Linked DNA regions of Homo sapiens: all the other regions are linked to region 4. The links are contacts of gene promoters, found by promoter capture Hi-C in blood cells and fetal thymus (Javierre and others, 2016). All regions are on one chromosome and are shown on one strand. The core of a region is centred on a gene start or on the middle of the fragment in contact, and the rest is flanking DNA. Distances in the headings are between cores, read along the strand shown.

What was found. Contacts are between HindIII fragments. The CHiCAGO score rates a contact against its expected background, and 5 or more counts as called.
Region 1: a fragment that was not itself captured here is called in contact with the fragment with the promoter of CAPSL in region 4 in 1 of 17 cell types (total CD4 T cells); the score reaches 5.0 in total CD4 T cells.
Region 2: a fragment that was not itself captured here is called in contact with the fragment with the promoter of CAPSL in region 4 in 2 of 17 cell types (erythroblasts and endothelial precursors); the score reaches 6.5 in erythroblasts.
Region 3: a fragment that was not itself captured here is called in contact with the fragment with the promoter of CAPSL in region 4 in 2 of 17 cell types (M2 macrophages and M1 macrophages); the score reaches 6.2 in M2 macrophages.
Region 5: a fragment that was not itself captured here is called in contact with the fragment with the promoter of CAPSL in region 4 in 7 of 17 cell types (total B cells, total CD4 T cells, naive CD4 T cells and 4 more); the score reaches 6.3 in total B cells.

The regions. Positions count from the first base shown.
Region 1 is chr5:35,128,584-35,134,290 of GRCh38, reverse strand. The region is part of intron 1 of PRLR (prolactin receptor); the gene reads left to right. Among named protein-coding and RNA genes, the nearest start is that of AGXT2, 83 kb to the right of the region's middle. The HindIII fragment of the contact is 6,322 bases long and covers 1-4,697 here.
Region 2 is chr5:35,184,411-35,190,040 of GRCh38, reverse strand. The region is part of intron 1 of PRLR (prolactin receptor); the gene reads left to right. Among named protein-coding and RNA genes, the nearest start is that of PRLR, 43 kb to the left of the region's middle. The HindIII fragment of the contact is 2,962 bases long and covers 1,639-4,600 here.
Region 3 is chr5:35,242,602-35,247,579 of GRCh38, reverse strand. No RefSeq gene overlaps it. Among named protein-coding and RNA genes, the nearest start is that of PRLR, 15 kb to the right of the region's middle. The HindIII fragment of the contact is 1,275 bases long and covers 2,357-3,631 here.
Region 4 is chr5:35,937,064-35,942,248 of GRCh38, reverse strand. CAPSL (calcyphosine like) reads left to right here and starts at 3,627. Exons shown (of 5, transcript NM_001042625.2): 1 at 3,627-3,708. CAPSL-DT (CAPSL divergent transcript) reads right to left here and starts at 3,448. Exons shown (of 2, transcript NR_104630.1): 1 at 3,325-3,448; 2 at 2,256-2,526. The HindIII fragment of the contact is 5,426 bases long and covers 3,258-5,185 here.
Region 5 is chr5:35,147,878-35,153,011 of GRCh38, reverse strand. The region is part of intron 1 of PRLR (prolactin receptor); the gene reads left to right. Among named protein-coding and RNA genes, the nearest start is that of PRLR, 80 kb to the left of the region's middle. The HindIII fragment of the contact is 2,678 bases long and covers 817-3,494 here.

The sequences.
Region 1 (5,707 bases), core at 287-2,786, 810 kb after region 4:
AGCTGCTCAGTAAATCTTTCAAGAGCTCACCCAAGTCCCAATCTCAGCTTCCTGATTTCTTTTCCTCTTTATATGTGAAGGGTTTTGTTGTTTGTTGTTTATTTTTTTTATTTTCATAGGTTTTTGGGGAACAGATGGTGTTTGGTTACCTAAGTTCTTTAGTGGTGATTTGTGAGATTTTGGTGCACCCATCACCCGAGCAGTATACATTAAACCCAATTTGTAGTCTTTTATCCCTCACCCCCTTCCCAACCTTTCCCCAAGTCCCCAGAGTCCATTGTATCATTCTTATGCCTTTGCATCCTCATCGTTTAGCTCCCACTTATGAGTGAGAGCATACAATGTTTGGTTTTCCATTTGTTGTTCATTTTTTAATAAACATGGTTGAAAAGACTAGGCTATAGTAGGTCAGTAGGGCCTGTTTCTGAGTGTGGTCTGTTTTGCCAGCACATTCTCATGACCACTTGGCAAAAATGAGACTGTGACATTTTTTTGCTCCCAACAGATGTATTTTTGGTAGCCCACAGGTTCTTCATTTGTTTGTTTACAGTCTTTAAGGAGAGAAAACATGCTGTGAGGAAGGGATCAGATTGAAAACTGCTTAATCTGATGGGAAAAGCCTGAAACACAACTTATTGATGGTCTTCAAAACTATGACAGGTTAGAAGGAAGAACATTCAAGCTAGTTGGTCTCTATTTCCATGGAGGAAGTGAGCTTAAAGTGCAGTTAATTGGGAGTATAGTGAGCCAGAGACAATAACTTTGGAATTAAATAACAAATTTGGCTGCTAAGAAAGTCTATGGCATCTCCATTCCTAAAGAATCAGTTTGCTGTGGAATGGGAGTCAGAAATGGGTGGGTTACAATTCTGCTTTGGTCTCTGACTCACCAGGTGTTACATGGCTTTTCAGGGCCTGTGTTAGTCAACATTCCCCAGAGAAGCAGAACCAATGGGATATATATAGGTATACATGAGAGGAGATTTATTATGGAAATTGGCTCACACGATTATGGAGGCAAGAAGTCCTATTATGTGCCGTCTGCAAGCTGGAGCCCCAGGAAAGCCAGTGGTGTAATTCAGTCTTATTCTGAAGGCCTGAGAACCAGGAGATCTGATAGTGTAGCTCCCACTCCACGGCCAAAGCCTGAGAACAAGAGAGAGGCCTGGTATAAGTCTGAGAGTCTAAAGCCCTAAGAACCAGGGGTCTGAAGTCCAAGGGCAGGAATAGAGGGATGTCCCAGCTCAAGGAAGGAAAATTTTCACCCCTTCCATGTTTTTGTTCTATTCAGGCCCACAGTAGATTAGATAAAGCCCACCCACATTGGTGAGGGTGGACATTCTTTACTCAGTCTATGGATTCAATACCAAGTGTACTGGGTGTTTCTCCCAGAAGCACCCTCAGAGACACATCAGAAATAATATTTTATCAGCTATCTGGGCATCCCTTAACCCAGTCAAGTTGACACAAAATTAGCCATCACAGGGTGTCAGCATCCTCATCTATCAAATGAGAAGTTGAGCTGGATAATCCCCAAAGTCCCTCATTGCATACGAATGTCCTATGATATTTAACAATAGGACATGTAGCCTTCTGCCTTGAGAAATTTAGGTACTAACAGAAATTGTTTCCCTGAGGTCCCTTCAACTTCAACAATTTAGAGTAATTCACCAATGTGTTTCCTATTTTGAATAGGACTAATGTGTTTCCTATTTTGAATTGCAAAAAATATAAACATATCCATATTTGATACCAAGAAATTAGTAATTCTGTTGGATGTGAAAAGAACACGGGTTACATAAGAATATGGTCATAATTGCTAGAGATATATACTGAAATAGGTAGGAGTAAAATAACATGATGTCTGGGATTTTTTTAAATAAAATAATATATATCCAGATTTCACAAGATTTCCTTTGGGCTGGAAAGGTTTCTGAATATAGTGCCTGTGTTCTAGAAAGAGGGGTCAGGAGCCTAGAGTATGCAGATGTTGATGGTATTGAGTGTTCTGTACACAGAACCAAGAGACTAGAGACTTTAGAGACCACAAAATGCTTTTCCTAAAGACCTAGAACATGAAGGTTTAATTTATTTCCCTTTTTCTCCTCCATGTGTTTTGGATAGGTTGGTAAGTGGAAATCAATTACCCCTGAATAAAATAGAAACCCTGAGAGAGATAAGTGACTTTTCTGGGGATACATGCTAATGACAACATCAAAGCCAGAGTGAGGATTGAAGGGTGAGGTACTATGACTACCTCCCTCTACTCCTCCTTCCCCTCCTGCTGGGGAAATGCCAAAGGTATAAGTATCCTTTTGGCACCATTTGTCCTCCAGGGTTTCTGTGTCTGTCCTGTATCTCCTTATTCATTCTTAAAACTCTTTCTAGTGGTCAGAGCTCTCCTTTAAAGAAAGAATAACAAGACATCATAGCAGTGAACTCAGAGCACTATCACTGGCTTTTCACAGGACATGAGCAACTTTCTCACTGGAGGGGTCAGGGATGCTTGTATGGTAGGTGCTCCTGACTGTGATAACTTCACTTGAGCCTACCCTGAGAATGACCCTGTGTGGCAGATGCACCCAAATATATGTTCAGAGTTCCAAGCTAAGGAATTGGAAGTGGCCATCCCAGAGATTCATTCCTTATCTATGAGGAACATCTGAACCCCAGCCCGTCCCAGGGAATGTGGGCCATACAGGGGATCAGCATCCTTTGTTTGGGGTTAAATGAAGGTTGCCAGGCTGAGGTTGCTAGGGGGAGGGTGTTAAGTGAAAATGTTTTATAAACTGCATGCCTTTTGCCAGCGATTGTGGTTCTTCTTACCAGCCCACTGCCACTGGACCAGCAGTTCTCCTGTCCAGCCCGCCACCACTAGACCCTCTCCCCTGTATGTAAACCCCCAGTAAAACCCCAGTGTCTCATTTTCTAGCTCTGGATCTCTTCTTCAGCCTCTTGAACCTAGTGCCATCCCCTTTGGAGTTGATAGGGATTCAGCACATCACTGCTACACTAGAATAAAACATGTGCTGTGTCCACATTAGGCCAACAAAATCCCATACCATCCAACTTTTTTCACTGATTAAAAATACTATTAAATTTTAAATTGGTTCATATAAGAAGTTGCAGAAAAGGTGTTTGTAGGCAAATCCAGCTGACTCACATATAAATCATCTGTATTAGTTTATTAGGGCTGACATAACAAAGCACCACAACTAGATGGCTTACAACAACAAAAATGTATTTTCCGACACTTCTAGAGGCAACAAGTGTGGAATCAAGGTTTCAGCAGGGCCATGCTCCCTCTGAGATGCTGGGTGGAGTCCTCCCTTGCCTCACCCTAGCCTCTTGTGGTGGCAGCACTCCTTGGCATTCCTTGGCTTGTAGCTGCATCACTCCGATCTCTGCCGCTGTTTTCCAAGGTGTCCTCCCCGTGTGTCTCTTCTCTGTCTTATAAAAACATCCGTCCTATTGGATTAAGGGCCCACCCCACTCCATTATTACTTCATCTTAACCAATTACATTTGCAAGGACCCTATTTCCAAATGAGGTCACATTCTAAGGTACTGGAGGACTTCAGCGTCTCTTTCGGGAGGATGCAATTCAACCCATAACACCATCCAAACAAATGACATTATGAGAAGGTTTCCATTTTTGTCCTCTGTTGTGGTTAGATTCCTGATTTTACATAATTTAGAGCTAAAAATTTACTTCCTGTCTGAAAAGTGATTTTTGACAAGGATTGAGATCACAACTCGAGTTCTGTGGCCATTGCTTGCCCTTTCAGAATCACTTGTCCCATCCTGTGTGCCATGTTCCAAAGAAGCCAGGTGAGCAGATGCTGGCGACACAGGGATGACAGCATAGACTACAGCTTTAAGTGAAAGGGACTCATGACTCAACCCTGTAGCTTGCCCTTGCTATGGTTGCCCCACCCCTCCCAACTCCTTATTCCTCCTGCTTTGCTGAAACCACAGCTGCCTTGAATCGAGCCATTTTGATTCTGCCGCAAATGAGCTGTAAACCAAATCAAGCCACATCAAACAAATCCAACCACCATCAAAAGCAAGTTAGTCAATTTTTGTTTTCTTTGCAATGGGGAGGGGTCATAAAAGCCTTGTATATCCCAGGGCAAATATTAATCTGTCTGAAGAGTCAGCTTGCCAACGGGTAATCAGCAAACAGGTTGGTGCTCATGAGAGCTGCACAGACTGGTAGTTGAGGATATTCGGTGCCAGGAGCAAACCCCAGCAGGCACCCTTGGTAAATCTGGCAGGCTCTGTGACTTCACCCTCTGCATTCGGAAGCAAGCATTCAAACTTTGACAGGCTTGCGACATGCCCAGGGTAAGTCACCTGGCTTCTTGGATTCTGGACAGATATCCTTGTGCCACAAGCTCACTTCTCTTTCTCTGCTTCAGGACTAGGTCCTTCAAGGGGATAGCAGAGAAAGCATGTTTGCAGAATCCATGCCTTGTGCCCACTCCCACCCTACTGCTTGGCACTTTTAGGGAAAGTGGGAAGGAGTAAAGTTACTCTGTCACTGGCAGAGGAGGGACAGTAAAGGGAAGAAGAAAATGGGAGAAATGAGAAATAGGTACCCAATGAGTAAAAAAAAAAAAATTGATTACAGTGCTTAAAACCTATCACTACAGTGGTGATGTTTCTGAATGATAGAGAGGGTGGATTTGGCAAAGCTTCTGGAATCTTTTCAGACTTGAGGTCCACCTCCTGTCTTGAGACCAGTTAAGTTTCAACCCCACATTTGCTGTGGTTGATCCCTTGACCTTTGTGTAAATCCTCCCAACTTTGTTAGGCCAGAGGAATGTGGAGTAAGGGTTCTGAGTTGTACAGTTCCACAGTGACTCATCTGGCCAATACCTTAAGGATGCAGGAAATCTGAGCAGAGAACAAGACTCCCTCAATATTTAGAAACTGGATTGAGATTTCAATCCAAAGGATACAATTTGCCCATCACCTTAGTTGCTTGTACAGTAAATTGAGCACGTCAATAACACTAAGAGAACTTTTTCTCTTGATGCCTAAATGCCAATCACAATTTTTCTTAGTTCTCTCAATTGGCATCCTGGTTCCTGTCTCACTCCTACTGTAGTGCACACTTACAGAAATGAAAGCTGCCTACATAACCACCACCAGCATCCAGAAAGGAGAGAATTTGACACCATCTCTTTTTATCTCCACCAGTTTCTGCTTTTTAGTCATTAACAAATGGCTCTGGTTCCCTTTGCAGTGAAGACCCACAGAGGCAGAAGTCCCTGCTCTGAGTCAGTTCAGCTCTGATTTTGAACACTGACTGGGTGCTCAGCAGTAAGGGTTGAAAGGAAAAAGAGGGAATACGGGGAAGGAGGCAGAGATGGAGACAGATTTACAGGTCTTGCCTGAGAGTTGTGCTTGATAAGCAGAGAGCCAATTATCTCTGCAACTCCACCTTCCCAGCAGTCAAATACTTGATGGGCAGGTTAAAAAGTGAGGAGGTGAGGACAAGATTAATTATCAAGTCTCAGAGGAGGTGAATGAAATGCCTTCTTGTTCATTGCTATTTATTCAAAAAGAGCTGCTGAACATGAAAGAATATTATCATTTTTGCAAATAATTAGAGGAAATAATAGGCTTGTATTTTTTAAGCAGCTTTATTGTGATATACTTTATGTTCCACAAAGTTCACTTGTTTAAAGTACAGCCAGCCCT
Region 2 (5,630 bases), core at 1,870-4,369, 750 kb after region 4:
GGGCTCTCTCCCTCTTGCCTCTTGAATTCCTGCATCTCATTTCACTGGGTAAACAGGGAGGCTCCTGTGCTCCAGCAGGAAAACCCTGGACTGGGAAGCAGGATGTCTACTCTGATCCTGCTGCCCCAAAGCTGTGCGGCTTTAGACAAGTGGTTTGACCTTTCTGGGCTCAGTTTCCTTGATTTTCACTATTATTTGAAGGGCTTGGGGTCATGGAAATCATGAACTCTTCACACTGAGAGGAATCTTCATAATCCATTTTGTAGATAACGAACCTAAGGCTGAAGAGGTCAGGGGCTTGCACCCAGTCATAGAGCTAAATGAGGTGCAAAGAACCTAGAACTCCGGCGTCTTGACTCCCACCTGGGACACATTTTATCAGTAATAGTGAACTCTCATCTGTTGATAGTGTTAGAATTCTCACATTTACTCCCCATAACAACTTTCTTTTTTTTTTTTTTAAACGGAGTTTCTCTCTGTCACCCAGGCTGGAGTGCAGTGGCACGATCTCAGCTCACTACAACCTCTGCCTCCCGGGTTCAAGCTATTCTTCAGCCTCAGCCTCCCTAGTAGCTGGGAATACAGGCATGCACCATGGCGCCTGGTTAATTTTTGTATTTTTAGTAAGGATGGGGTTTTGCCATGTTGGCCAGACTGGTCTCAAACTCCTGACCTCAAGTGGTCCACGTGCCTCAACCTCCCAAAGTGCTGGGATCACAGGTGTAAGCCACCATGCCTGACCAGCACCCTTCTGAAGTAGGTGCTTTCAGAAATCTGAAAGCATAGTGTCGGTTAGCAGGGTTGGATCTCTTCTGGTACTGTGAGGAAGAATCTGTGCCATGGCTGTCTGCTAGCTTCTGGTGGTGTGCTGGTCATCCTTAGTGTTACTTGGCTTGCAGAAGCACCATCGATCTCTGCTTTCATCGTTGTGTGGTGCTGCCCCTGCATGCATGTATCTGTGTCCAAATTTCCCCTTTTTATAAGAGCACCAATCATATTGAAATAGGGCTCACCCTCATAATCTCATCTCAACTAATTATATCTGCAATAACCCTACTTCCAAAAAACACCACGTTCTGAGGTCCTGGGTGTTGGGATTTCAACGTATGAATTTGGGGTGGGAGGGCACAATTCAACCCAAACATTACCTAATAAAGTTTTCAACAGTAAGTAAATGAGTTAACTCCTGGAAAGCATTTAAAACAGTGTCTGACATTCAGAAAGCTCTCAGTAAACGTTACATTATGCTGGGTATAAATAAAAAGCTCCCAGGACAGTGGACGGCATTGAGATTCCACCGGTTTGTATTAGTGTGGCCTCGCCAGTAATTTACATCTTCTATCTTTTTTGGTTGGTCAGGGCTTAAGCCATACCAGGTAAATATTTTGAATAATACTCCTAGCTAAAAGGTGCAAGGAGTAGATACTGTGGGTTCTGATTTTTCTTTCCCGTTCTCCAAGCTGTGTACACAGAACCATGCAAGTCGCCCCAACCAGGGAAAAACAACTGCCATTTCTTTTAAAGGGGAACCAATGAAGGTCTTGTCCTGATGAGCTCACAAAAGCAAACTTCTCCATGTCTGTCGCTCACTCAGTGGGCTGAAGCAGAGCCTTCACGCTAAGCTTTGGAGACAAAGCTTCTTAGAGAATGTGCAACGTGGGCTGATCCCAGGCTGCCCAAGGAGCAGCTGACGAGTGTAAAAGTGTTTGCTCACCGATTAGAATCAGTCCTTTAAAAAATAAATAAGGTATGTTGATCTTTTATGTGATGATTAAACAAATCAGATGGCCCAAAATGAATTCCAGGTAAAGAGGAATAAAATATCAGAAGGCAAGCTGCTGAAATTAGCAAGAGCTGAACTCGAAAAGCCCGACTTTCCAGGCACGGCTAGTTTCTTCCTAGCAAGTTCCTGACGGAGCTGGGTGGCTGCCCCAGGTGACTGCAGTAGCAGGAGATTAAGGAGACAGCACCTGCCTGACAAAAAAGGTTGCTGACACAATAGGCCAAAGTTAAATTGAGCTGCCAAGGGAAAATGATTGGGGATATGCAGTTAACAGTTGAGGGAGATACCAGAAGAATTTGTGTCCACAGAGAGATTTTGATGGGGCTGACTTTGCCGCTGACCGACTCACCTCAGAAGCATGGACTCCCTTACCTCCAAGTCCAAGGCAATGGGGCTCTCTCCCTCTTGCCTCTTGAATTCCTGCATCTCATTTCACTGGGTAAACAGGGAGGCTCCTGTGCTCCAGCAGGAAAACCCTGGACTGGGAAGCAGGATGTCTACTCTGATCCTGCTGCCCCAAAGCTATGCGGCTTCAGACAAGTGGTTTGACCTTTCTGGGCTCAGTTTCCTTGATTTTCACTATTATTTGAAGGGCTTGGGGTCATGGAAATCATGAACTCTTCACACTGAGAGGAATCTTCATAATCCATTTTGTAGATAAGGAACCTAAGGCTGAAGAGGTCAGGGGCTTGCACCCAGCCATAGAGCTAAATGAGGGGCAAAGAACCTAGAACTCTGGCGTCTTGACTCCCACCTGGGACACATTTTATCAGTAATAGTGAGCTCTCATCTGTTGATAGTGTTAGAATTCTCACATTTACTCCCCATAACAACCTTCTTCTTCTTTTTTTTTTTTTTAAACGGAGTTTCTCTCTGTCACCCAGGCTGGAGTGCAGTGGCGTGATCTCGGCTCACTACAACCTCTGCCTCCAGGGTTCAAGCTATTCTTCAGCCTCAGCCTCCCTAGTAGCTGGGAATACAGGCATGCACCATGAAGCCTGGTTAATTTTTGTATTTTTAGTAAAGATGGGGTTTCACCATGTTGGCCAGACTGGTCTCAAACTCCTGACCTCAAGTGGTCCACGTGCCTCAACCTCCCAAAGTGCTGGGATCACAGGTGTAAGCCACCATGCCTGACCAGCACCCTTCTGAAGTAGGCACTCTTATACCCATTTTACTGATCAGGAGACCGGCTTGCCCAGGATCCTGCAGCTACTGAATAGAGGGGCCAGAACTTTGCTGGTTTGGTGCGCTTCCTGGTACACACCAGCTGCCTCCAATCTCCCTTTGATAATCCTAGCCACATGCCACCGCGGGTGCTCTAGTGTAGGCTGGCACCAACCCCACCCAGCAAGAGCCAGGATCTGCTTCTTGAGGGCAGGCAGGTTTATCACACAGCGGGGTGCAGAAGAGTAGTATTCATCTTCCTAGTGTAACCACTTATAACTACTTTTCAGTGAATCAAATAGATTTTTAAGCAAGAACATTGTAAAAATCTGCTTAATCAAGGGTGGAGCAAAATGAGTTAGCCAGGGCCACCCTAGCTCAGATGGGGTGGTAGCTGCCTCTGCTCCACAATGAGGTATTTACACTTGCTCCCCACCCTCTCCTTTGCCCCATTATCTTTTAGTTAAAGGGCCAGGTGCACCAGAACACAGGTGCCTTGAGTAGCACCAGCACCTCTCAGGGTCATAGGGAAGAGCTGTTTCCTCTGGGTAAACTGAGGCCTCAATAAGGCATAAATGCCTTCTCTGGGTGAAGAAGATATGCCCTCTAAGATCTCTCCAGGGTGAATCTAGAATAAGTTGTAGTCTAGATGGCTTGGCAGCACTAGCCAGTGTGACAGTAAGTCTTGATGAACATCAGTCAGCGTCATGCTGAGGGACAACCTCGAGGAGAGGGAATGTGTACTTGTTACAACAGCACACCCAATAGAAATAGCATGTAAGCTACAAATGTAACTTTATATTTTCTAGCAAAAAAAAATTTTTTTAAAGAAACCAGTGCAATTCATTTTAATAGATCTTATTTGTTTCAATATATCCCAAATATTGTCCTTTCAATGTGTGATAATATAGTTATTAGTGAGATATTTTCCATTCCCTTTTTCATACAAAGTCTTTGATACTCAGTGTGTATTTCACTCTGACAGTGCACCTCAATGTGGTGCAATAGGCGAGGGTCTATGTGGTACATCCCGTGCCCAGTGTGCACTTAAAGGCTGTAGATCCATATATGGCGACTGTCTCCTAGATAGATGAGCCCAGCAAGGCTCAGTGGGTGTTTTGAGGTCCATGGTCTCTCAGGTCCCGTTCCACCCCGACATTCGACGAATCAGAGAACACTAATATGGTTGGGAACACTTTTATCTTGCTCCCCATAGTCTGAACAGAAAGAGACGCCACAGAATACAATCACGACTCTCTCCCTCCTACGGACTCCCTCCCCACAAGCAATCAATGGGCTGGTCTCAGACAAAGACACCTAGTCAAGGCTGGTGAAACCTGCTCTATTTCCTAGTAGGCCTCCACCTGTAATTCTCAGCAGTTTGTGTGTATAGATAGAATTCCTGCCTTCTACTAATGTGACTGTTCCTGCTCAGAGATCTAGAGTTAATTATTAGCAAATTCACAGTGAACCAGAGCTAGGTCTTGCTGTAAGGCTCCTGTGTTTTTTAGAAGTACGTTGCCATGGGGATTTTTGTCCCCACTGGGTTCCTCCTCAGGACCCCAGACAGATAGATACACAAACCCTGGGCCCATAATTTTAGTTAGAAAAGGCCCAAGCCTAGAACCTCAGGGAACTCATTTGGAAGCTTTTTTTTTTTAGGAAACTTACCTTTCCTATTTGACATCTCAATCAAACAGGTGTTTGGGGAGAATAAAAGCATACTACCTTAGAAGGGACTGGGGTCATCTGGCCAGACTTGTGGAATAAAGAGAATTTCATTCCTTGTATAAAATAACTCTAAATAATGGTAAGCTCTTAGGAGACTTGATCTACTGGCTACATATACCCACTATGAAATTAACACATTCTGGAATTTAGATGGAAGAATATGGAAATTGGTCCTTCTCAGTGTATGGACGAAGCATCAGAAATGAAGAGAAGGGCCAAGCCTAGAGAGCAAAACTAAAGACTCACTGGTCTGTGGGCTTCCTGCCCAAGGAGAGCTGAAAGCTAAAGGATGCTTCACAATGTCCTACAAGTTGTTTTTCTAAAGTCCTTCCAGCGGTTGAAACTGTGTTTATGCAAAACAAAACTTTCCTTTGTTGCTATAATCTAGAGGTGGACTTTGGCTTAAGTCATGCCAAAATATTATCATTCTAAACCAGTAACACCTATATTTGTTGAGCATTTACTATATGTGTGGCACTATGCTAAACTTAACTACCCCTTTTCCTCATGTGTAACAGTCAGGTGACTTCACAGCTGCCTTGTGGATACTTGTGTTATTTGAAAGATTGCATAAACACATGTAAAATGCTTAGAAGTCTACCACCTCATCTTACCTACAGCTTTGGTGAGTCCCTGCTTTGGCCAAGTAGAATCATTCCCTGTGAGGAGGGGAAGAGGATAAGAAACAGGCAGAGTTGACCTTACAGGTAGACACAACAGGCGAGGGTCCATGTGGTGCAATGGATCCCATGCACATGCCTGATTCAGTCATTCTAGTTGAGTAGGATTGTCTGGTTGGTTGTTATTATTTTGTTTTTTGTTTGTTTCTTTCTTTTGTTTTATAAGATGGAGTCTCACTCTGTCGCCTAGGCTGGAGTGCAGTGGCTCAATCTCGGCTCACTGCTGCAACCTCTTCCTCCCGGGATCAAGCAATTCTCCTGCCTCAGCC
Region 3 (4,978 bases), core at 1,745-4,244, 690 kb after region 4:
GCCCAGCCTGCCAAGTCTCCAGGCAGCTGCTCTGCTACTCTCAGCCCTGCTGGTGGCTTTTCTTCCTCCATAAGGAAGCAATTTTTCCAGCACACTGTATGTTAGCCAGAGAAAGTCTACCTTCCCATTAAATTTTTTTAAAAAGAAAGAACAGTGGATGAAAGGTTAATTCCCTAGCTTTTGTCTTATCGTTTTCAGTTTCTAGTTAGGTCACCAGCAATGCTAATGGTTTATTCAGAGGGTGTGAGTGACAAGGTTTTATTGCCTCCGAAAGCACTTCTACTCCCTCTGCCTCCTGTCACCCACTGCCCACTACCCCACCCCAACCACATGCTAAGGAACAAGGGAAATTCTGGGGATGGATGGCTGGAATAAAAGAAGATGGGACTGAGGGCCCCTGTATGTGGTGACCCGAGTCTGCATTCCTGACCTAAAAAGAGGCCAACCAAAAGGAGCAAGGGCAGCAGGCTGCAGCTAAATAAGAAAGATAAACACATTTGTTCCTCTGCTCTTCCTCCTCCCCTCCCCTTCTTTCTTCCTCTCCCCTCCTTTTGCCTCCCTTCCCCTCCCCTTCCCCCATTTCCTTCTTTCTCTACTCATGAACATTGAAGATTAATGGATTTGTAATACCGGAGAGAAAGGAGCATTTGAGGAGTATATATTCACTTCACAAACGGCCCATTCTGGCCCTTTTGGTCCCTATGAACTGGGTTTCCAAGGTGTCTCTGATTCCTTTTTTGCCTAAAGAAGACCCTAACCCTAGCCCCAGCCCACCTTGAGATGGCATTAAATGGAGCTCCCCTGTGCCTCTGGTCCTGGCTGGAAATGTGTTCCACAAAACCCCCAAACATTTCCTTGTGACATGAATGAGCAGAACACTGCTGTGACTTCATGGACTTTATTATTACCAGCAACTCCTCCTTTGGCTTCAGAAAGGACTGCCGGTTTACAGAGCAAACCTGCACAACACCCTGTAGATGGCAATATAGGAGGCATTGTTCTCTCAGAAGCATGGCCCTGAGGCTGGAAAATGCCTTCCACCTGTTTTGTTTTTCTGTGTAGGAAGTGTAAGAGAAGGGAGCAAATGACAAGCAAGAAGCGTGGCTGGCTCTGAGCAGGTTCTTGCTCTTAATCTGAATTTTAAAAGTGGAATTAAACAATAATAAAGATAATGCTTTAGAAAATCTCTTTAATGGGACATGACCCCATCATGTCAATTTTTTTTTAATGACTGTATTGAGGGCAGTGCAAGCTAGGCAAGCCCTGGGAAGACTGTGTTTTGTGCTCAGATGCAGATAGCGAAGCCAGCTCAACTCTGATGCACAGAACACGGGCACACTGGCAAGCAGATGCTATGACTGAAGCCATATTGGTAGCCAGGCCAATCTCTCAGCCACCCATAGAACAGCAGATACTCACGGGTTTGCAACTTGGCTTTTTGGATGTATACAAAGGATCTGCTTTCCTTTGGCTCAGGAGACCTAACTGGAGGCCTCTATTCCATAAAATAAATTTCCAATGTCTGTCATTTGCTAGACAGCCAGAAGAGCTATGATGTCATGAGGCCTGTTTTGCCTGGGCCGTTTTGTGACCTGGGAACAGCCTTCACTTCTCCGGGCCTTGATCTCCTTGTCTCTAAAAGGAGCAAATTGATCAATGGTGGTCAAGTATCACAACCTAGAGTGAAAAACACATTTTACTTTAGGACTCAAAATAGATATAACATGTATATTTTTATTTAATTTAATAATTATAATATGCATATTGGCCAGGCACGGTGGCTCACACCTGTAATCCCAGCACTTTGGGAGGCCAAGGCGGGCAGATCATGAGGTCAGGAGATTGAGACCATCCTGGCCAACATGGTGAAACTCCGTCTCTACTAAAAATACAAAAAATTAGCTGGGCATGGTGGCAGGCGCCTGTAGTCCCAGCTACTCAGGAGGCTGACGCAGGAGAATGGCGTGAACCCGGAGGGTGGAGCTTTCAGTGAGCCGAAATCGCGCCACTGCAATCCAGCCTGGGCAATAGAATGAGACTCTGACTCAAAAAAAAGAAAAATGCATATTAAGTAACTGCAGTGAAATATTTTTTACAATAGTATTACCCTTACCACCTGCGGTATACTCTGATTTTTTTATGTTTCTCTATCTGTTTAATGCTGGTCAGGAGCCATTAAATTAATTTTATGACCTGTTGGATGGATCACAACTCACAGCTTAAAATCTCTCATTTACATCTTTCATTCATTCATTCATTCATTCAGCAAACATTTATTAAACACCAACATGTACCAGGTCACCATTCTAAGTTCAGGAGTGAGCTAAATGGGCAAAAATATCTGTCTCATAAAGCTTACATTCTGGAAGTATGTATATATGATATAAATATGTCATATATATACACACACATATATAGATATAAATAGTAAGCTATATAGTATATCAGATGATATAGCAGATATTGTCAGTGCTCCACCCACATCCTTGGACCTCAGCATTCTGGTACACTCCCTGATATTCCAGGGATCAGCATCTACATCAGGTCTTAGGTCTTTTTCCAAAGTTACAGAAGGCTTATTTGCCCACCTTGAGGAGAAGTGCCATGAAATCAATACTCCACTCCCAAAGAGCCCACAATCTATGACTAATGGAAGCTGGCATGTAAATATCCCAGCTCCTTCTCCATTTGGGTGGAATAACTATAAGGCATCTCCTGAATAAACCACTTACACTTGAAATCCTGGCACAAGATCTACTTCTGGGGAAACTAAAACTGTGAAAGAAGGTGATGAGTGCTATGGCATACAGTAATAGAGAAAGAGGACAGTGAGGGCCATGGGAGGTCATTTTAAATGGGGAGGTCAGGGAAGTCATCACTGAGAGGAAACAAGTGATATTTGAAAAAGGACCTGAAGGAGGTAAGAAAAGAGACGTGTGGATATGAGGGAGAGGAATGTTCCAGGCAACAAGAAGAGCCAGTGCAAGGTTCAGAGGCAAGAGTAACTAGACCAGTGCTATGGACTGAATGTTTGCATCCTCCCAAAATTCTTATGTTGAAGTCCTAATCCCAAAGGTGATGGTATTTGGAGGTTGGTTCTTTGTGTAGTAATTAGGTTTACATGAGGTCATGAGGGCAGAGCCCCCATCATTGTATCAGTGTCTTTATAAGGAGATGAAGGATACCACAGATATCTCTTCCACATGAGGATCCAAGAAGGAAGCTGTCCGACCACACAGAGAGCCCTCACCTACAACATAACCATGCTGGCACCCTGATCTCACAGTCCCAGTCTCCAGAATTATGAGAAATCAATGTTTGTTGGTTAAGCCACTCATTCTATAGTATTCTGTAATAGCAGCCCAAAGTGACTATGAAAACCAGTGGTATAAGCAGGAAAAGATAGATTAGTGGGATAGAAGATGAGAGATATTTGATATTATGACTACACATTAGTGATTGAGGATTGCCACAGCTGGAAACCTGATTCACAAGTACATCTTGCCACTGAAAGTCAAGAAATGTGGTAATGGCAGGCAGAGAAACTGACAGAGATAGCAGTATGCATGCACTGTGTGTGAATATTTCCATAGCCTACCAACGCTTACCTGTGGTTTTATTAAACTAAGCTTTCTGTGTTAATTTCCTGGTTTTCCATTATTAACTAACTCTTATTGCTCCAAGGATATCCTAGCTTTTAGGTTTCCAACCATTTATTGATCTCACCCTTTTAACTTGCTGTTTCTAACATAATACAAGACTTTTGGCATCACTTTCCTCATCTGAAAGATAGCTCTACCAGCTCTGATCACAACTGACACCATCATGTCTGTTTGGAAAAGAAGTGAACTATTCCCCTTGCTGGGATCAGGACAGCAGTAAGAGTGGTAAGGAGACTGAGAAATAACTTTTAGGCTGTCACAGGGAGAAGAGGAATCTCTCTGCTTTTCTAGAGTCACATTTTAAAGAAGAGAATACCTTCTACGCTAATCCAAACAAAGAGCCTGTTTTGGCTTGAATTATTTCAGTTATGAAGACTCACTGTTTTGCAAAATGGTGATTTTCATTCCCAAGTTCCATTGATTATAGAATTTCTTCATTGTTTTGTCTTCTTCAATGTTTTACAGTTTTCAGTGTACAGATCTTTCACCTCTTTGGTTACATTTATTCTCAAGTATTTTTTGCTAGGCTATAGTAAACAAGATTGTTTCCTTGATTTATTTTTCAGATAATTCATTACTAATGTATAGAAACACTACGGATTATTTCCAGTATTTTGAATTAAACTTCAACGAACTTTCCAAGCAACTCAGAAGAAACATCTCTTTTGTGCAACAATCCTTTATACGACTGAAGAACACCAGCCTACTTTGCCTTCTTTTTTCTGCATCAGATGATCCTCAGGTCTACAGAATGTTCTGCATGTGATGAGATTCCAGCACTTGGACATCACTTAGATGATTGGCTTGTCAGCAACAGTATGAACCAGAAAGGTAAGAGCATGATTCATACAGTTCTAAGTGCTTTTAATGTCAATTACCTCATCTTACACTTGAAGCAGTCCTACGAAGTAGGTACATTTATGATTCCCATTTTACACTTAAGGACAATATAAAACACAAAGGTCAGTAATTTGTCTAAGACACATAACCAGTAAGTAGTGGAAGCAGACACTCAGTGGCTAGTCTGTCTGCAGCGCTCCTGCTACTCACTACCACTCCACTCTGCCACCTCTGCTCTAGCAAACCCATGGCTCGTTGGTGTCAGTCCAGACAAGACTCAGTCCTTCTGGGTCCCAGTCCAGTGCTTTTTTCCTCCATATCACATTATCTTGAGTGCAGATAAAATGTCCTTGGGAGAAAAGAGAGGGAGCTTAGGGAGAGAGAAGTAGGAGGAACAGAGTTCCCACATCTAAATCCCAGAAGAACTATTGAGCTTTTGCTTCTGTCACTAAAAATAACCTTCCCTATTTGTAAGT
Region 4 (5,185 bases), core at 2,378-4,877:
TATGTCAAAAAACACAGTTTTATACAACTCTTCTATAGCATACTGGGAATATACTAACTCTTCCCCAGAGTGGAGGTCCTTGGGTGATGTTCACTCTTATTCTTGATATTCTGTAACATAAATACTGTGAAGTAATATATTAGATTTTAAGGAGATAAAGTGAGAAGAATACGATAGTATTCTACACACACAAATTCATAACAAAATACAAGGTAAATACTCAAAACATTTACAATCCTTTTGCAACTGATCATATGGTGATAGCTAGCATTTGTATTTCATATACCTTTGCCCTCAGCAAGTACCGCAATTGACTTTTTGCCTGATTGGGAAGGGGACCCAAATATTCATTCTTGAAGAGTTGGGGTTATTAGTTTTCCTTACTGAATTGGGTTATTGTAGATTTTTTGTTGACTTTAATAAAAGGGCATGGGCATAATTAGTGATGTGTTAACAGAGTTCCTTTATTCCAGGCTTACTCTTCTTTTTAATGACCTATAACAGTAAACCAACGAAATGATTGCAGCTGTGACAAGTGCTACAAAGAAGATGAAAACATAGTATTCGCTACTCTTTTTCCAACTTTTATTTTATGTTCTGGGGTATATGTGCAGGTTTGTTACACAGGTAAATGTGTGCCATGGTGGTTTGCTGCACAGATCCTCCCATCACCTAGGTATTGAGCCCAGCATCCATTAGCTATTCTTCCTGATCCTCTCCCTCCTCTCCCCACACCCTGTGACAGGCCCCAGTGTGTGTTGTTCCCCTCCGAGTGTTCATGTGTTCTTATTATTCAGCTCCTATTTATAAGTGAGAACATGTAGTATTTGGTTTTCTGTTCCTGCATTAGTTTGCTGAGGATGGCTTCCAGCTCCATCCGTGTCCCTGCAAATCACATGATTTTGTTCCTTTTAAGGCTTACTCTTTACATCAATGTGTAGTAGCAACTCAATTTCCCTTAGTAATCAGGTCTTGCGTGATAAATCCAGTCCAACATTTCAGTCTCCCTAAGCCTTTAGATACCTTCCTCTTCAGTGTCCCAAGGTAATTCTGGTATTTCAGCTTCATTTAGCGTAGGCCACCCTTTGTTTCATCCTTAACTCAACCAAACCCATCGAGCTGCAACTCTATATTGAGAATTTGTGCTTTGTGGGCCTGTATCAATAAATTCACCTTGAGTCAACTTTATGTTCCTTCTACCATTATTTCACACTATTAACTTACATTCTCACATGTATTCACCAGATTTCTGTCTGTATAAATTGAAAAAATACGCATTACTTTTGGAATGTAGTATGTCTCCCATTGGTTCGCAATTTTAATCTCTCTTTCAAGCCTGTTGGGACTAGAGTCTTATTTATAGATATAGATATAGATAGATATAGATATAGATAGATATAGATATAGATATAGATATAGATGATATAGTTCTACAAGCCAAGAGGTTTGGTGGAAGTAGGTTCTGAGGATAATCAGCAGTGTCTTCCAGTTAAAATACCTCAGAGGTGCTAGTACACTTTCCTTTGAAAAATCAGGATGAACCTTCTCAGACATGAATAGCAGGGTTGCTCCTACTGGCAAAGAAGATGCAGGAGAATTTAGAGGTTAAGTGTCCTCAGCTTCATCAGGATCTACCCTACAGGTTTCATTCCGATTTTCAGAATCTCATTCCTTCCTAATCAATTCCCTCAGTTTAGCAGAAGATACTTTGCCTGGTTGGGAATTCAATTTGCACTGTAATTCTGCCACTCTCAGGATGAGACTCCAGATTTGATTTTCTGAAACCTCAGGCTGATGACAATGGGAGATAAGTACGTTCCTCCAGGAAGACATAGAAGGTTTCAGATCATTTATGTGGAGCTTGAACTTGGAATTTCAAGCCCTGAGTTCATCATTTTTCTTTACTTTGTCTACCACAGTTACAAGCAGTCATCCTCATTACATTTATTAGTTTGACTAAAATATTTTAAGCTATCATGATTACCTAGAGATTTGCCATTTATGAATATTTGATTAGGAATCCAGTAGTAATATTTTACAAATCTTTTTACCGTATTACACCATAGACTATCATTGTCTTCTTTACCACTGGAAAGAGTACTTATGCCTTAAAATATAATCAATATTTTATATTGATTGTCAGAAACCCAATACCACAAACCCAGATCCAGTTTTTTGAACTGGTAAAACCCTTGGAATTACACCAGTTGCTAGCAGTGGAAACAAGCAAAAGCATTGCTTAAGTACTCCAGAGATTTTGTTCTTTTTACTTTATTTGACACAACCTGGAGGCAGACTATTGAGGGCTTGCACGGTGGCTCCATCATGCTGTCCGTTGTCCCAATTTTCCTGTTTCTTTTTTATCTTTTCTTAAATTATTGCACCAAACTTACTCTCCAGTAGGTGGCTTTCAAGAAATACTTCATATTTAAATGCCCATGCCCTCATATTTGCTTCTGCATTCACAGATGAAATTAAGTTTCTTCTTAAAAGTTTCAAATGCGTGATATCTTGTGGGTTAAACCACTGAAAAGAAAACATTAGACATCTGAGGTTGCCCTGGAAGAACCACAGTTCTAATTGCTTAATTCTGGGACAATTCTTCAGACAATTCAGATAAAAGGATGAAATAGCTACTATGTATACTCCCTGCAGATATAGCAAAGGACCCAAGCCCTTGTCAAATCCATGAAAGAACTTGCCTAGTAGTCTGCAGAGCTGGGTGCCTGGCATCTATTCCGTTTTGTGAGTTCTTATACTGCAAGGATGTTGCACACAGCCAGGATTATGTTATATACAGAGATGTGTGTGTGTGTGTGTGTGTGTGTGTGTGTGTGTGTGTGTGTGTGTGTCAGAGAGAGAGAGAGAAAGAGAGAGGTGTAAGGTCTGAATCACCACTAATTATACCTGCCTGCTCCTGAAAGCAGGACGTGCAGGAGTGGGAATGACAAGGATAGGGTGGATGTCATAGATACACAATGAAAGAGAGCATAGTGTAGATATTTTCCTCCAAATAAGCCACTAGATTTCTTCTTATCTGGCAAAGTAACTGCTAGGGAACATGTGAAAAACATAAGTAAAAAGAAACAAAAAGAGAAAAGAAGAGAAGAAACCAAGGATGAAAACAGCAGAAATGACATCCTCTGCAAATGCAGAGAAGGAGGGAGAACCTTGAATCACCTATAATTACCCCTGCCTGCTCCCAAGAGTTGTGGTTTTAAGTATCACCTGGCAATGAGGCACCCTAGCAGTAAGCTTTCTGGGGACTACAGAAGGACAGGAAGGTGCTGCCTAAAAGAAAGAAGACAATGTGCTGAATACTACCTTACAAAACATGGGAGACAAGTTTTGATGCTGTTCTAGAAACCAAACCATTGCCAGCAAAACTTCTGGCTGGCTTCTCTCCCAGTGCAAATGGCTTGAGCTTTCACAGTCACTGAGATTTCCTAGGCAACAGGAGTGTAAACTTGAGAAAAGGCAGAACCAGAGTAGAGATTGACAGTGAGCTGAGCCAATCAGGCTGTGAATCTGCAGCAGTGATCCCAGGTCCTCCAATTAATACTAAGAGAGTGGACCAGGGCCCCTGAGGAAGACAGGTAAGAGGGAGGAGGCTAAGGTGGCTTGGGAGGGACCAGTTTTCCTAGATGCAGGAGACAGCGTCCATAGTTTCAGTTCGAAGCAACTGGTGGCAAAAGGTTAGCATTTAAGGTAAATCAATGTTTTTATCTATTCTATGATTTAATGTTTTTTTTTTTCTTGGTATGTCTTAGCTGAGAAAAGAAGACAGTAGATGTTACTCTCTAAAAAGAAAATCTAAAAGTCTTTTGAGAGTTCTTGGACTAGAGAAGCCATCACTAGGCTGTCAGTGCAAGAGGAAAGAGCTTGGTACTGGGAAAGATTTTTGTAATCTTTGCAAAAAAAATGCTTAGATAAAAATGCACAAAAATAAATTTCATTCAGTAAAGGGGAAGGAAGTAAACATTACTGAGCAGTCATTAGGTACTAGGTATTTGAGTGTGAAGGGTTTGGGTGAATTGCTCTAACGATCCTGATGACCACTGATAAAACTGAGCTTCAGGGAGGTTCAGCATTTCCAAGTCACAAAGCAATAAAACATTTCAACTTTCATTCAGACCTTGCTTTGTCTGATACTTAAACTTATGCTATTTCTGCTATACACTGACAACTGAGAATCAGAATAAAAATCAGGATGCTTATTAAAGTGTACATACATGGCTTGTTCAAAATTATATCAAATAGTTGATTTGATTCATCAGAGACTTGAGGGGGTCCTTTACGTTCTCATTAAAGGACAACACCAATGACCCAGGCAGCCATCTCTATTGCCTTCAGTCTGGGGAGTATTTAAACCATATTAAGTAGATGAAATTCTTACCTGTTTTTTTTTTTTGACTTATTTTTTCCTCAAATCCTACAACCACAAAAATCTATTTTGTTATTGAAAGTTTTAAATATTGAGATTTGAATTTCAGGCATACATTTGTATTTATATTCTGATAAAAATTACCCAATAGCAATGACAATGATAAATTCTAATAGCAATAAAATAGCCTCCTGCTAAGCCCTGATGATATGGTGATAGTAAATGCAAAGGATACAGCTCTACCTCGTAAGGACCTTATAGTCTGTCTAGCAGGGCAAGTAATTCGAAAACGAATTACATTGTCTTGCAATGTGAATGCTATTTGGACTTCACCACATGATCATGGAAGGATGGGTGGGACTTCTCTGGGCCAACAGGAAAAAGAAGGTGTACCTGCAAGTGTGACTACATGTACAAAGGCACAGAGATACAGAATGCTATGGTGTGTTTGGGGAATGTGAGTGAGTAGAGATGCAGGATAGATTTTGAACGGATGGAGAATTACTAGAAATGGCTGGAGACATAGGAAAGGCCAATGCATGAATTCAATGCTAAGAACTTTCATTTTACCTGTATGCAATGGGGGACCATCAAAGGGTCTTAAACTATATCATGAAGTTCATGTTTTCATTTTCTAAAGATTGCTCAGTCTTTTGAAAGACAAAGTACAGAGGGCAAAGCTAGGGGCAGGAAACCAACTAGGAGACATTTGCAATGGTGGAAATGAGAAGTGACCATGTCCTAGGCTGAGTCAGTATCCATGGCAATGGAGATGAGGGAATGGAAATGCGGGATGTGTCA
Region 5 (5,134 bases), core at 906-3,405, 790 kb after region 4:
CAAACAGCATGGTAAGAGGAACTGCAATTTCATTCCAGGTCTTACGGATACCAAGTCCCATGCCTGCCAGCTTGCACCTGTTAAGTCATGTGATACTTAGGAAATGTACACATCACCCCAGTGCAGAGGCCTTTATCCACTTCCCTTCATTTTGCCTGGATTGTTGCTGTGAGTGAGAAATAAATGACATGAAATGATCATGTATATCACTGTCTTCAGAGGATGGTTAGTTCCTTGCTCTGGATTGTTTTTCTCTTTTGTTGGATATTTATTTTGACTTCTCTGCAAACTAAAAATATGCATGCTCTAGTTTCTCTTGGGTACATAACTCCCAATATATTGTGAAGAATGAAACTGGCCTACAAAGTTTAATTAAGAAGCAGTGAACTAGAGCTTACTTAGACAATACTTGTACTAGTGTGGGTTCATGTTGTCCATTTGTCTTTAGAGGTGTAGAACCTTGAAAGTCAGCTAATTAATCACTATTACTGTTGTGTACAGTATTGGCAATCTCCTATGCTAAAATTTTTTGTGATGATTTGAAGGTGGGAGGGGCAATATTTACTAAGTCTCTCAACCTACATGGCAATATCTGAAACCTGCTTATAATGTAGTAATAGCTTAGGCACCACCTATTTCTGAAACATAAATCATCCCACAATATAAGCCTCCCAGTTTTATTCATGCGTCTTACCATGTATAAATATCTTTTAATATACCATTTATTTCCTTGAGGGACAGTTATTTGTAGCATAAATCTGCCTGGATAAAATAGTAAAAATTGCTATGCCCCAGTGAATTCAGTTTACAAAAGCTTACATACGTGAATGAGACATTGGAAATGTGGTTTATAGTTAAGGAGAATGGATCACGCGGATTATACCTGTATAACTTCCCTAGAAGGTTGATACCACTAAGATATTAACACCAAAAAACTGAAAATAGTATTTTTCATCTTACTTTGTTATGTACCCTTTGTGAATTTCTGAAAAACACCTTTCTATTATGATGGGATAAATTACGGTGTGGTAACAAACAAGCCCAACCTGTTTGTTCCGGTCAACTAGTTGCTTTATAACAAACCACCCCAAAATTTGTTTAAAACAGCTATCATTTGATTGTGCTCACAAGTTCTGTGAGTTAGGAAATAAGACACAACACAGTGGTCTTATGTCTGTTGTGTAATGTCTGGGTTCTCAGCTGTGAACACTCAAATGGCTTGGAAACTGAAATCAGCTGGAGGCTTCCTTATTCATATGTTTGGTGCCTGGCTGGGATGACTCAGATTAGTTGGGGCTCTTGACAAAAGCACCTATACATGAACCCTCTCAGGAGCCTTGGCTCTATGGTGGCTGGATTCTGAGAGGGAGCATGCAGAGAAAAGAATTCCAAGACAATGGATGCTCTAAGAGAAGCTACTTGGCCTTTTCTGATCTAGTCTTGGTGGTCATGCAGCATCACTTTTGCCACCCAGATCAAAGGGGAAGAGGAGACAGACTCCACCTGTGGATGGGAGAGTGTCAAATTCACACAGAAGTTGTATGCAAGCTATTCTTGGTCATCTTGCTCATCTATGAAATATACCCTCCTCCATGCATTGACTTACAACAAGGGTTTATTTCTTGCTCAAAGTCTGCTGTGAATCTAGGCAATTCTCCAGAGCAGCTGTTCTTTTGTTGGCTTAGCAATCCAAGCTGCTGCTTCCATCTTACAGCTTTTCCATATCAACTCATGATTCCACAACCATTGCTACGAGGCAAGAGTAGTATGGAGGATCACACACTACTCTTAGAAACCACCAGCTGGAAGGGAATTATATCACTCCTGCTTACATTTGATGGCTCACATAGCCATGCCCAAATTCAGTAGAGCAAGCATGGCCCTCCTGTGTACCCAGAAAGGAAGGAGAGCTAGAAATATTGGTAAATAGCAATATTGTTTACCATAGCCTCAGAGATATTGCCTCGTGGTGAAACCCTATAATTCCCCTCAATTCTGATTTTTGCCCTTTATCAAATCATTTTATTCATTCCTTCATCCATCCAACAAAGATGTTTTATATGCCTACTATTAGCAACTATCAGTAGCTTGTTCCTGGAGGGAATGCAGCTGCTCCCCGCCAAAACACCATATAATTCACTCTAGAAAACTAAAATTTCAGATGCTTTGTCATTGATTATTGTGGGGAGAAAATGTCTCTTTCAGCTCCGACTTTGTCCTGTCTCCTCTAAGGCATGTGAAATAAGATTTTTTTTTCCTATTCTTACCTCCTATGGTCCCATTTTATGGTTTTCATGCACTACTGTCAGTCAAATATTTATCATATGTCTTTCAATATCTTTCCAATATTTATCATATATCTTTCCCCTTGTAGGCCTTAACTTTATGACCCACTATTAAGCACGCAGCTGTATTTCCAGAAAATGTAGATGGTTTAATTCAATACTGCATGGCAATTAACTGTCTTATAAATTAAATCATTTTAATCCATCTTAGAGTTATCATGCATAATTAGTCTGACAGCACAATTCTGTTTGTTGTTGTTTTAAAGGAAATTTAGATATCAAGGCTGCAAAGAATGCGTAAGTCTAGGCAGAAGGCTCTTATTTTCCAAAAGCAGAGCCCATCGTTGCATTTCAACAATGACCGCAACAAAAACCATCAGGAGCTGTTTGGGGCCTGTTTGTGCTTTAGTCTTCAATTAGAAAAAAATGTGTTTCTGATGGAAAACCATAGAACAATCCTCACTCTGTGGTAAGAAAGAATAAAGAGAAAGAAGTGGGCTCTATGATAGACTGAAGCAAGAATACTATTTTAGACTAGGTAGTGGCCGGGCGTGGTGGCTCACGCCTGTAATCCTAGCACTTTGAGAGGCCAAGGTGGGCGTATCACCTGAGGTTGGGAGTTCGAGACCAGCCTGACCAACATGGAGAAACCCTGTCTCTACTAAAAATACAAAATTAGCTGGGCGTCGTGGCGCATGCCTGTAATCCCAGCTACTCAGGCGCACTGGCTCACGCCTGTACTTGGGAGGCTGAGGCAGGAGAATCGCTTGAGCCCAGGAGGCAGAGGTTGCAGTGAGCTGAGATTGCGCCATTGCACTCCAGCCTGGGCAACAAGAGTGAAACTCTGTCTCAGAAAAAAAAAAAAGACTAGGTAGTTATCTTCCTGGGTGGTTTTGGCTATGTAGAAAATCACTCTTACTCTCGATTAATTTATGTACCAAATCATGCTTTGAAATATCCCACTGAAAAGGTCTAAATTATTGATATCTTGGGTCAAGTTCTGACTTGAAGGCAAATAGTAGGAAATACAATGGCATTTATTGGAGGCACACACTACAAATATTGTAGTATCTTTAAGATGTGTTTAAATAAACAAGTAGATGATAAAACTATAAATTAGAGTCACTAAGACTCTCTAGCAGAGACCCTTACCTTTTGAAGTGCACCTTAAAATGGCAACAACACTTATCAGAAATTCCATAAGAAGCTTAGTTGTCTGCTACTCTATTGCAGTATCATATGTGTGAGCTGCATGAAAACTGGATATTATTATTATCAAAGGTTATTATCAAATGGAGCACAATTTTATTAATAACAATATTATTATTATCAAAGGTTTTAATTTGCTAAAACTATACAGCTTCCTTAGGTCTTCCAAACTAGGTCAGCCAGTTAACCCTCAGATCTGGAGTACCACATTTGGCTGAGTCAGAAGAAATAAAGATGCTCTCAAAACCACAAACAAAACTGATAATAGACATTCTGATAACTTTAACTCCCACAGTAATAAATCTTGGGTCTTTTAAAGTTGGTCAGATGTACACAGAGCTGCTTACTAATTATACTAAAATAGTTACTAAGCAACTCGACATTTTGATTTCCAAGAATTTCAGATAAAGATTATGAACTTTATTTATTTGGTGCTTTAGAGTCCAAGGCACTATTTTACAGCCTAAAGCTGTATTTCTCAAGGCCATCTTCTTGCATTCTTCTAAAACTTAAGAGGGATCATCTGTCCTCAAAAATATAAGAAATTCTGTAAATGTGTATTTTTGTGTATATATATATTTGATATTTAAAATTCTGTATCTATATATACTTCCAAGACCCCTTAGAACTTACACGGTACCTGTAATTTGTTTCTTTTTTATACTTAAGTACAAGTAATGTTAGTGATACATTTAAAACTAGGAATTACCTTGTTTGCAATATCAAATTTTTGTAAAATATTGAGTTAAAAAAGTCTCCTAAAATTAAGATTTGAACTATTATAAATGGCTTCAAAGATCCTTTCGTTTCTAAGAGAAGGAAGGAATTAGGATTTATTGTGCATGTATTTCATACCAGGTGCTCATCTACAGTTATTGAATCCTTGCAACAATCGTATCAGGTAAACGCTGTTATTCTTCTCTTACAGATGAAAAATCTAAACCTTCTAAAATGAAAGTTTGTCCAAGTTAACATGACCAATTAGGAGAGCTTGGATTCCAACCCAAATCTGTTCAGTATCAAAGCTCACTCTCTTCCATCCTTGCCCCTTCTCAGCTCACATAGTAGCTTTCAGAAAACAGTAGCTATCTACCCCAGATAAAATTAAGCCTTTTTTTCCTTAGGAGAGGCTAGAAACTGAATCTTCTACCCCCTTTATTGGCATCACACAGGCACAAAAATCACCAATTCTCAAAAACCCTATACTCCCAAGTTCAACACAAATTGAATGGTTGGAATATTGTTGGTTTGTATGGAATAATTAACCCACATCTAAAAATTAATTATACAAAGTGAAGTGGAGATTGAAGCAGTTTTCTAGATAATTAAGGCAAAAATAACTGCAATTTTTTTAAAAGACAGTTTGAAATATTTAGAAGGGTAGATTGCAAAATTATCCAACTTAAGGTAGTCATATTCAGGGAGTTTAGCCAAAACACCTCTGAAGTTCATTGCCTTACAAATGAGTATAAAACTTAAACCTATGATTAATTCCCTGTTGTTTTTCTATCTGTATTATACATATAAATATATTTTATATATTGTCCTCCTGAGATTTCAAGAGCAATTTTCTTCTAATTCTTCTAATTTCTTCTATGGATTCACCATAGTGAATCCACCGACACGTCTACCCTGTGACA